3 separate regions of the Homo sapiens genome follow, and regions 1 and 2 are each linked to region 3. The links are contacts of gene promoters, found by promoter capture Hi-C in blood cells and fetal thymus (Javierre and others, 2016). All regions are on one chromosome and are shown on one strand. The core of a region is centred on a gene start or on the middle of the fragment in contact, and the rest is flanking DNA. Distances in the headings are between cores, read along the strand shown. Region 1 has its middle 160 kb from the start of SNTB1. Region 2 has its middle 140 kb from the start of SNTB1. Region 3 holds the start of TAF2 (TATA-box binding protein associated factor 2).

Region 1 (3,578 bases), core at 936-3,435, 1.1 Mb after region 3:
CACTTAATATATGACCCTGGGCAATTATGTATCATCTGTGAACTTCCATCTGTAAAGTGTGGGTAATGGTACTTATTTTGCAATTTTGTTGTAAGGATTAAATGAAATCAAATATAAAATTTTCAGCTTAATCAGGTTGTTATTTTTATTATTTATATACCACTAACATCTAATAGTTAAAGTGTTAGGAGACATTTGATGGTCCTTTTACATGGCTGCAGTATAAATCCCTTTTCTTTCAGTTATATGACAGAAAAGTTATGTTGTTTTCCCAGAGCTCTGGGAGAACAACAGAGGGGAAGTCTATCTGTCCTCTTTATCATCTATTCCCTTGACAGCTTTACATTGAGATTCTGCTGAGAATCTAAACCCCATAAGGTTTGGGACTGGGTCTTATCTTACATCTCTTCCCCCAGAGTAGCTAGCCTAGTGTCTTGTATATAGCAAGTGATTAACACATGTTTCTTGCATTTTTTTTTATTTTCTAGTATTTATTATTTGCATACTATGTTTCCAGCACTGTGCATGTGCTTAATTTTCTTGCATTATTTTCATACAGAGTATCTCATGTGAAACTCCTACAGTATTATGAGATGAGCAGTACTTTTCTCCACTATAGAGATAAAGTCACATCGCATAGCAGCAACAGGAGAATTAGGATAGGAATCCAGGTAATCTGACTTCAGAGCCACTACAGTTCCTCTTATGGATGAATAATAGTAATCTTTAGCTTACTGAGGACATATCATGTAAGTGCTAAACTCTTTACATGTGTAAACCCATTTAATATTCACTACAGCTGTGTAAAGATGAAATTTGTGTATTAGGTGAAGTTTGTTACATAGATATAAAAAAACTAAAGGATGCCTAACTAAGGCATCCAACCCAGTCTTTGCCGTCTTTGGGGAAAAAATTGATAACAGGAAAAATCTACTCATGAATATTTGATAATTATGAAAAAGAAAATCTGGCTGTGCATACGGTAAAAGAATTATTTAATCCTCACTCATTCCTTCACCATTGAATTAGCACCTACGGTATGTCAGGCACTGAAGGAGGAGCTGAGGTTACAGAGAAGTCAGCCCCTGCCCTCAAGAGCTTTTCTGTCTAGTGGGTGTGGGAGAAACATAAACTTAGTGAACTTAAGACATATTAGAGCAAGAGCCAGCTGAATTCTTGATGCTGGGAACAGTTGGACATAACATGACCAGTTTGTACAGTCAGAAGCAGCCAAGTAGGAGGTAATAATTTTAGTTTTACATAAAATGAATGATTTATGAGTGTTTTCTGTTGGGGGGCAGGGAAGCAAAAGAAATGAGACTTACAAGTATTTGTTGGGTTCATTTATTTTAACATTTCCCATATGCTCAGAAGACAACATAATGAAATATATTTTCTTTGTTAGACACTGAAGAGCTTGGCAGGCCTTCCTATTTATTCCTTGTATTCCAATCTCTTGTTATGATGTCTGCTAATATTTCCTGTGTGTCTTATTTCACTAAAAAAAAAAATACAAATAAAACAGCACATACACAACAACAACAATTCAAATAGGTTCATTCCACATTTTCTTGGGACCATGTTAGTTATAAGGAAGTAAATTAAAACTGTAAGATAAAAAGTTGTAGACCACTGAGATCTGTAATACTGCTAATAATACCCAGGATTTCTAGAGTCCGTTGGAGCCTTCAAAGCTTGTTGTATATCTGCTTATCTTTGCCTGATTTAATACTCTAGGAAGTTTGCAAAGGAAGTAATCCGATGCTTATATTCAAGGTGAGGAAGTAGAGTCTCAGAGAAGCATAATGACTTGTCTCAGGTCAGATCAACTGTATATTACAGAACCATGTCTTCAACCAGGCTCTTTCTATACAATTGTTTCAGCTGTAATATGCTGCAGATATCTCTACTTTGAATTAGAGCAAGAAACCAATATTTTAATGTTTGTCATCTATTTTTTGGTATCAAAATTTTATTTGTTAAAAGTTTCTCCTAAATAAAATGATGCTTTAGATATTTAAATAGATCCTACAAAGGCAATTTTTAAAATAATTTTCTGGTTCTTAACCATCTAATTTTTTTTTTTTTTTTTTGAGACGGAGTCTCGCTCTGTTGCCAGCCTGGAGTGCAGTGGCATGATCTCAGCTCACTGAAATGTCTGCCCCCCAGGGTTCAACCGTTTCCCCTGCCTGGGATTACAGGCAGGAGCCACCAGGCCCAGCTAATTTTTTGTATTTTTAGTAGAGACAGGTTTTCACCATGTTGGCCAGGAAGGTCTCGATCTCCTGATCTCGTGATCCGCCCACCTCAGCCTCCCAAAGTGCTGGGATTACAGGCATGAGCCACCATGCCCGGCCCTCATCTACTATTTTTTTTTTTTTTAGTAATGATTCTAGTGTTTTTATGAAAAATATGTAAAAATAATTTCTGAGTTTTCTTGAGCTTGCCCAGCTCTACTAAACTTGAGCTTTTGGTAAGAACTAGATGTTTCAGATCTGTCTACATCTCAACAGCTCAGAAGCTGGACTGGAACAAGGACACAGTGCTGAGGGCAGCTCCAGGTGGGTCCTTCGGTCCTGGACCGTGACATTTTTGAGTTTACCTTGGTGACAGCTCCCGAGACTTGAACATGTTAGCGTGGTCTGTGCTTGTTCTATTGCTTGACAGGGCCCAAGAACAAGCTTCCTGAGCCTGGCATTCAGTTCTTTAGGGATGCTGCATGAATTTTTATAACCTATCCACCCACCTCACGTCATTATTTCAGAAATATATAAATTCCTGGCAATTTTCCTTTCTTTTTCAAAGGAGGAAGGCCCACTGCAGTATCTTTTATCAATCTCCTTTCTGTCTGTAATACAGGGCCCCATTTTCCCTCCCTAGGCATTGGTGACTATTTTCTCACAATTTTATCTGTCTCTGGCTTTTCTTCTCTGATCCATTTGCCACATTAGCACTGGAGTTATTTTGTTTTACTGGAATTTTAAGACTGAGCGTGTCATTCTCCCACTTAAAAATCTCGGAAGGCTCAGTATATCCAATGCAAGATAAAGTCAAAAGTCAGGGAATTCTGGGTCCCAGGATCACCCAAGTAATTGACCTCAAGTGACTTTTCCGGATCCTCAGTACCGGTGCCAGGTCACCTACACTACCTTACGTTCCAGCCCCTGGGGCCTTTTGGCCTGTTCTCTATTAAACAAACATGTCACACCACCGTATTTTTCTTCTCCGGTTTCCCAAAGATATACTTTGTCCCACGGTATACCTATCAAAGTGTCTTCACTCATTTAATGTCCAGTTTAAATACCTCCTACTGTGGGGTGCTTACCCTGATGATCCCCTAGAATTACATGCTGATAGCCCATTACTTGTGTGAACATTGAACAATCTTTCTTGCTTATAAGGTAGCTGCTTTTGTGTCTGTCTCATCTACTAGATTACGAGGGTTGGCTTCATCAGCATGAGAGCTGTGAAGCTGCACGGTAGCCCATGTTTCAACGGATCCACGTTTGACTCAATGCTTTGCTATTGCCATCTTGAAATTCTTACCGTTTTTCAAGTAAGTCGCTCTCCATCTTCAT
Region 2 (4,097 bases), core at 434-2,933, 1.1 Mb after region 3:
TAGTCAGACGGCCTTTATCTAATTTCTGGCTCACAGTTAGTTGTGTTCATGAACATGAACAAGCTACTTAACTTCATCAAGCCTCAGTTTCTTCATCTATAAAATGAAAATAATGTTACCCTTTTTTGACATTGTGAGGTTTTAAGACGTACAGAGTAAGCATTCAATAAATGTTAGCTATTATTGAAAATCCCATAAAAATGAAACAAGAGTGTTCAAATATCTATCTACATGTTCACGTGGTCAAATTGACATAGGTGTTGGCTACAGTTGCTGTACATTTGTCATGTGGCTGGCCCTGTGAAAAGCACTCTATATGCATTTAACCTTTGCAACATCGGATAATGCATTATTTGTCTCATTTTGTAGATGAAGAAATTGAAGCTTAGGGAGCTCAAGTAACAGAGTTGGTAAATGGCAGAGCTGGGATTCTGGCTCAGGTATATCTGATTTCAGAGCCCAAGCACCTCGTTTATTAGCTGCTTTTGGTTCTACCTTCTTCCATAGCCACATGACTCACTCCCTTGCTTATTTCATGTCTCTGCTTAGTTTTCACTAATTTATCCACTCTGTAGAAAACAGCAGTCCCCTCCCTCATCCCTACACTTCCTGTCTGCCACACCGCTTTATTTAGCATTATAACATCTTATATCATATGGCACTTTACAATTACTTGCTTCTTGATCATTTGTCTCTCACTGGAACAAAAGCTCCTTAAGGCCAGGGCCCTTGTATTATTCACTGGTGTGTCTCCAGCACCCAAAGTGGTATCTGGCAGCTTCACAAAACAGGTAAGTGATTTGAGTTCACTCTGTCAAAGAACAACATTTGTTTGACTGTAGGAGTAAATTACAATTTGTTTTTATATCATATGTACAGACTGATCTGTGTGGTACAGAGACCAAGCAAATAGTGGTAATCCTTCACAGAACACATTTTATTCATATATTTTAACAAGGATGATGTACAAATATTTATCAATGCAAATTTTTATCTTTATTACACATATTCAAAAATGTCCCAATGAGTTCTGCTGCATTTTCTTTACAAATACATGTTTTGATAATAGCTTTATTTATATATAATTTATTTACCATAGAATTCACCCCTTGAAAGTGAATACTCCAGTGACTTTTACTACATTCATGAGCTTTGCAACCATGGCAGCCATCAATTTTTTTTTTTTTTTTTTTTTTTTTTGAGATGGAGTTTTGTCTTGTCACCCAGGCTGGAATGCAGTGGCGTGATCTCAGCTCACTGCAACCTCCTCCTCCCGGGTTTAAGTGATTCTCCTGCCTCTGTCTCCCGAGTAGCTGGGATTACAGGCACGTGCCACCATGCCCGGCTAAATTTTGTATTTTTAGTAGAGATGGGGTTTCACCACGTTGGCCAGGCTGATCTCGAACTCCTGACCTCAGGTGATCCGCCTGCCTTGGCCTCCCAAGCAGCCATCAATTTTAAGACCTCTTCATCACCCCCAAAAGGGTACACTTCCAAAAGGAAGCCTGTACCAATTAGCCATCATCCCCACCATTTGCTCCCAAACCTCAAGCCTAGGAAATCGTTAATCTAATTTCTTTCTCATGGATTTTCCTATTTAGACATTTGACATAAATGGAATCATGCAACACACACACACACACCGCCATAGTGGTATCTGGGGTATATAACATATACTCTATAAATATTCACATTCAAATAAATACACTAATTAATTGAGATCAGTGAAACAAGTCACAGAAAACTTAAGATTAAGACAGCCTCACTTATAATTTCATTGCCTTTAGATTTATTCTGAATGTTTTCATGTGTGTCTCATATTTGTGATGTTTTGAAGACATTCTATGAGCCATTATTTCCTCTAAGAATTGGGGAACCTGCAGTCCATACATTGGGTCTTGTTCCTCTACTTAATTTCACTTGGTTCATTGGAAAAGTACCAAGAAAGTGATGTTGCTGTTTACAATTGTTGCATAGTTGAGAAGATGGAGTAAGGCATCAGAAGCCTTCAGCTGCAGTATCCTTACCTTCCACAAGATGGTGCTCCTATTCTATAGAAGTCACTGTATTGCTCAGGTTCTGTGATGCTTGTTTTTCTGGGTTTGACTTTTTAATTTCGTTGTGCTTGTCTCTGCCTTTTTCTTAGAATTTTTGGTGTTTCTATCTCTTTCTACTTTTCTTTTTTTCTCTTATATTTAAACCTTTACCTGGGCAGTTTATTATATAGAACAAAGTAGACATCTTTATTGTTTAACAAAATAAGGTTGAGTTTTATGTTCCTTGATGTTATCTTTAAAATCTAATGAATGCACAATAATGTAGACTATATACTTATTTATCTAAGGAAAATCAAATATGTAAAAGTTGTTTCTGAGGTCAGTTATGTGGCTGTTGACTATTCTTTTCTCTCTCTAGATTAATTTTGTAAGTTTTTTTATGGTTTTTAAAAACAGGGTTTTACTGTTGCCCAGGCTGTAGTGCAGTGGCATGATCATGGCTCACTGTAGCTGCAAACGCTGGGGCTCAAGTAATCTTCTTGCCTCAGCGTCCCAAAGTGCTGAGATTACAAGTATGAACCATGGTGCCTAGCCCTATTTTGTAAGATTTTTAGAGTTGTGGCTGGGCGCAGTGGCTCACGCCTATAATCCCAGCATTTTGGGAGGCTGAGGTGGGCAGATCACCTGAGGTCAGGAGTTCAAGACCAGCCTGGCCAAGATGGTGAAAACCCATCTCTACTAAAAATACAAAAATTAGCTGGGCATGGTGGTGGGCGCCTGTAATCCCAGCTACTCAGGGGGCTGAGGCAAGGAATTGCTTGATTCCAGCCTGGGAGGCAGAGCAAGACTCCGTCTCAACGAAAAACGAAACAAAACAAAAGACTTGTGAGGCTTGGAGGTATTGAATTGTTTTTGAGGTCATTCATGTGGCTAATGACTATTTTTCCCTCTTTTAAGGTTAATTTTGTAAGACTTACAGAAGTTTTAAAGCTTGGAGATATGAAGTGATTTGTCACAAATAGTACAGGTTGCTGGAAGAACCAGGAATTAAATTTACATCAGTTTGCTTTAAGTCTACCTCACGTTTACTCTGCCTTGCTGACATCCTGCTCCTTGATTCTCTGAATCAATCCTACTATTCAAGAAAAAAAGTTTAAAAAGTAGGTTAGTTTAAAAGGCAGAAGTAGATGATTTCTGACAACTGACAACAGAACAAGTAAATACGGGTGTGCTGATGTGGTAGGCCACACGTTTGGTATTGTAAGGTCCATCTTTTTTTTTTTTTTTTTTCTTTTTCAGCATCCCTTCCTTTTGGGAAATGCTTCTTAACCCTCTACTTGATTACAATAGAACCAGTAGGAACTTCAATCCTGTGGCTTTGTCTTCAATTCATGAATGTGTGCGTGACTCAGACTGACCAAGTAGAGAAACTCCTCCTTGCAGGAAGGGATTGGCTTAAGGAGGGCACGGAGCTTGCATGGAGAGCCTCATACAGTGCTTTGTGTGGCTCAGGGAGCAGTGGGGGCAGAGGTCAATATTAATATTGGTATTAATATTGGCTGTTGGGACTATGAACTCTCAGTACCATGTGTAACCATTTTCTTGCTAGTATTAATTGGGTGCACAGAAAAAATGATAACATCATTTTTTTGCTACCTGCTGCCCTCTCTGATCCACTGACTCTCACTTTCCTGTCCTGTGATAATCTCTTAGGAAAATCCTATGACTACCAAGTCACTTTCAACATCAAAAATGTCTCATTTCAGGTATTGAAAAATCTAGTGTGGTCCAAGTCAAAACTTTGATCTCAGATCCTCATTAGAGTTTCTTCCCTCCACCAAGGTCAGGTCTGAGCTGTAGTTCACGATCATGTGACCATGAAGAGGTGGGCCCTCCCATCTCACTGTACTGCTTACCAGTTTTCCTTCATTTTCTTCCAGGGTATGGCCCAAGGAGAAGAGGATGAGGGGGGAGGAGAGGGAGGGTGTCACCTATTTGGTGCTGTCTCAATCTGACTTCAGTATTTTCTGTCGTGGCAGGTGTTCAAGTGTAGGTTTTAGGGAGTAGAGGGGCACTCGTGGGTTTATCAGAGACCCCCCC
Region 3 (3,545 bases), core at 271-2,770:
TGAGTGTATTAATCTTAATTTTTTTCATAGAAGAAATGTCGCTATGGGCTTATACTTGTTTCATGCACAATTATAAAATGCTTGGCTATACAGGCTTTCATATTATACACCAGATAAAGAGGAATAAAATTTTAATTAGGAAATTGAAAAAAAAGGAAAGGGAGAATTTGGGAGGCAATAGGTATTAATAGAAGGACCATGGAACTTGTAATCATACAGACCCTAATTTTAATTCTTACCTATTCTTGAAACACAATTATCTGGAAGACTACAAACTTTCTAAGTACTGTGAGGGGTGGATTGTTACTCTTTATAGTGGACTTGTTACTATTTATAATTGTTGAGAATAAACTTACCACAACAGATTTTCTCTGGAAATTTATGTTGTTGATGCAGACGACCTGATGGGTTGTATATTAATAAATATAAAAAGAAAATAAGGAAAAAATAATTTTTATTATTAAATCAAAGTATAATTCTATCCAAGTATAAATTAGGACTATGTTCTAAGTAATTCAAAATTACATGTCAATATTTCATTTTAAAACTACGAATTGGGGCCTGGTGCGGTGGCTCACGCCTGTAATCCCAGCACTTTGGGAGGCCACGGCAAGCGGATCACGAGGTCAAGAGTTCGAGACCAGCCTGGCCAACAGAGTGAAACCGAGTCTCTACTAAAAATACAAAAGTTAGCCGGGCATCGTGGCACACGCCTGTAATCCCGGCTACTCAGGAGGCTGAGCCAGGAGAAAAGCTTGAACCCGGCAGGTGGAGGCTGCAGTGAGCCGAGATCGCGCCGTTGCACTCCAGCCTGGGCGACTGAGAGACTCCGTCTTAAAAATTAAAAAATTAAAAAAAAAAAAACACTCTACCAATTGGGATAATTTTTTAAAATCTAGCAACAGTCACGAAAACAGATTTGACAGAAATACAATCTAGTACTTAGACAAAAACTTTAGTAACTTGCAACGGGAATTAAATTTGCTGAATAACCTGTCATTCAAAACATTTTTACCTTACAAACACCATTTCCATCACAGTGAGTAAATTCTAGTTTCCCACTAGGTTTCCCAGGCCCACCAAGTCAATTTCAAGCAATCGCAAAATATAATTAATGGCAACAAAACCAAAAGGAAGGAAGGGAAATGAAAAAATACTTATAATTTATATGGCCTTGGGCTTTCAAAGCCCTTGTCTCCTTTCTTCCTGTTCATTCTGGCGGGCTCTACACCAGTCAGCGGCATGAAGCGGTCCCGCGGAGCTTGGCTTCCCGGCTTCCTAGGGGGATACGGGGCATTACTAGTCTTTGGCACCTCACACTCTCCACTCCCCTGCGGTCCCCAAGTCACGTCTCGCAGCTGGCCGGTGCCCAGGTGAGCGACCTGACGGGTCGCTGCCCGCCTCAACCTCGCTCCTTCGACTAGCTCCTAGAAGCCGCCGTCGACAAGCTTCTGTCACAGAGATGCTCCTCTCCGCAAGGGCTCGAAGCTACCATCCGCCGACATCTTGTCTGTAACCTCTGACCTCCGACGTCAGCGGAAGTGGAACGGCGGCGGGGGTAGAACCAGGAAGTCTTGTCAATGGGCAGGGCTTGCGATCTTCGCATGTGTCTTATCGTAAAGAATTGTTAAAATTTAGGATAGGGAAAAAACTATTTAATGGATGAAGCGAGAACAGCAGGAAGAAAAGGAGGGAAGGTAGTTTTCTAGTACAAGCATATTGAGAAGAATGGAGGACAAAGTTTGCGAAGAGCCAGGTATAAATAGGCTGGGGCAGGGTGCTAGTAACTGGGCGGGGTGGGGTGGTGGGAAGTCTCCCGAAATCAGGAGGTGCGTGCCTCTGGCTTGCTGTGTGAACAGACACACTGGGTCCGGTGATTTAAGCTGTAAAATATGTGATTAGACTGCAGGTAGTCTAAATGTCAAAACTGCAGCACTCCACAGCTCTCACTAGGCACTGCTGCCTTAGTATTTATTTTAAAATATAGATTACAAGGCCGGGCGCAGTGGCTCACTCCTGTAATCCCAACACTTTGGGAGGCCGAGGCGGGCCGATCATTTGAGGTCAGGAGTTCGAGACCAGCCTGACCAACATGGTGAAACCCCGTCTCTACTAAAAATTACACAAAATTAGCTGGGCGTGGTGGTGCACGCCTGTAATCCCAGCTACTTGGGAGGCTGGGGCAGGAGAATTGCTTGAACCTGGGAGACGGAAGTTGCAGCGAGCTGAGATCGTTCCACTGCACTCCAGCCTGGGCGACAGAGCTGAGACTGTCTCAGAAAAAAAAAAAAAGAATAAAATATAGACTACAGGCCAGGCGTGGTGGCTCACGCCTGTAATCCTAGCACTTAGGGAAACTGAGGCAGTCATATCACTTGAGGTCAGCAGTTCAAGACCAGCCTGGCCAACATGGTGAAAGCCCGTCTCTAGTAAAAATACAAAAATTAGCCCTGCGTCGTGGCGTGCGCCTGTATTCCCAGCCACTCGGGAGGGTGAGGCACCAGAATCACCTGAACTCGGGAAGCCGAGTTTGCAGTGAGCTGAGATCATGCCATTGCACTCCAGTCTGGGAGACAAAGCGAGACTCCCTCTCAAAATAAATAAATAGACTACATAGAGATATATAGACTGTGTATATATATCATATAATCCATATAAATGCAGAAACATTTATTGAAAGACATTTCGAAGCCATCGTGTTTGTATTTCATGTTCATGACAATAAAACTTGTAAACTTCAGTAACAGTTAAACCTTCTTTAATTATGGATTAGCCATTAACATTTTTGAAACGTGGACCATTTAACCTCGGCCTACCCCCTCCAACTGTCCTGGTGATGAGTTCATTAGCTAAGTTAAAATTAATTTGAACTTTGATCTAAACCAAAACAAATCAGGAAAATAAAGCTGTAAAGGAACTTTATCAAGCATTCCAAAACCAACTAGAAATTACTTGAAGTTTTCGAGTGAGCATTGCCTGTGCCAGTATTCTTCATTATAGGATTATAAACTCGTTTTTTTCCCAAAGCGCATGTCTACGCCAGGCAGAGGAGTAATTATTCAGCCAATTTCATGGATGTAAACGATGGATATAAATAATTGATAGCACCTAGAGGCTTCCAGTTTGGGTGGAAGGCTAAAAGTAGAGGGGAACTCACTCACTTGAGAAATGATATTTAAGTGAATAAATAGTTCTCTTCTATGAAACTATTACTATTTAGTTCTCTGGAAAACTTAAGTGTATTAATGATTAGAACATCAAATCCTAAGTAAAGAAATGACATTTTAAATATAAAAAGCCAAACTTTAAATAAATCATAGAGACCTCAGACATAATATAGGAAAGAATTCTTTTGTCCTTGTTTACACTGTGTACATAGTACAAATATAATTTTAAAGCTACATCCTATAACATTTAAGAAATAACAGTAGTTTCAAAATGCTTAAGATGAGGAGAAAAATGCCTTAGAAGACTAGGTTTCTAAAAGTCAGAAATAAAAGTACAAGTTATTTTTCTTCTATCCAGCAACTTTATAAAGCAACTTG

What was found. Contacts are between HindIII fragments. The CHiCAGO score rates a contact against its expected background, and 5 or more counts as called.
Region 1: a contact is called between a fragment that was not itself captured here and the fragment with the promoter of TAF2 in region 3, in 1 of 17 cell types (naive B cells). The highest score is 5.5, in naive B cells.
Region 2: a contact is called between a fragment that was not itself captured here and the fragment with the promoter of TAF2 in region 3, in 1 of 17 cell types (total B cells). The highest score is 9.2, in total B cells.

Annotation. Positions count from the first base shown.
Region 1 is chr8:120,967,155-120,970,732 of GRCh38, forward strand. No RefSeq gene overlaps it. Among named protein-coding and RNA genes, the nearest start is that of SNTB1, 160 kb to the left of the region's middle. The HindIII fragment of the contact is 987 bases long and covers 1,693-2,679 here.
Region 2 is chr8:120,949,338-120,953,434 of GRCh38, forward strand. No RefSeq gene overlaps it. Among named protein-coding and RNA genes, the nearest start is that of SNTB1, 140 kb to the left of the region's middle. The HindIII fragment of the contact is 2,603 bases long and covers 383-2,985 here.
Region 3 is chr8:119,831,321-119,834,865 of GRCh38, forward strand. It overlaps TAF2 (TATA-box binding protein associated factor 2), which reads right to left and starts at 1,521. Exons shown (of 26, transcript NM_003184.4): 1 at 1,162-1,521; 2 at 357-411. The coding sequence starts at 1,244. DSCC1 (DNA replication and sister chromatid cohesion 1) reads right to left here. Exons shown (of 9, transcript NM_024094.3): 9 at 2,656-3,545. LOC105375728 (a long non-coding RNA gene) reads left to right here and starts at 1,559. Exons shown (of 4, transcript XR_928590.3): 1 at 1,559-1,756. RefSeq lists enhancers at 1,173-1,222, 1,283-1,642. The HindIII fragment of the contact is 3,868 bases long and covers 1,447-3,545 here.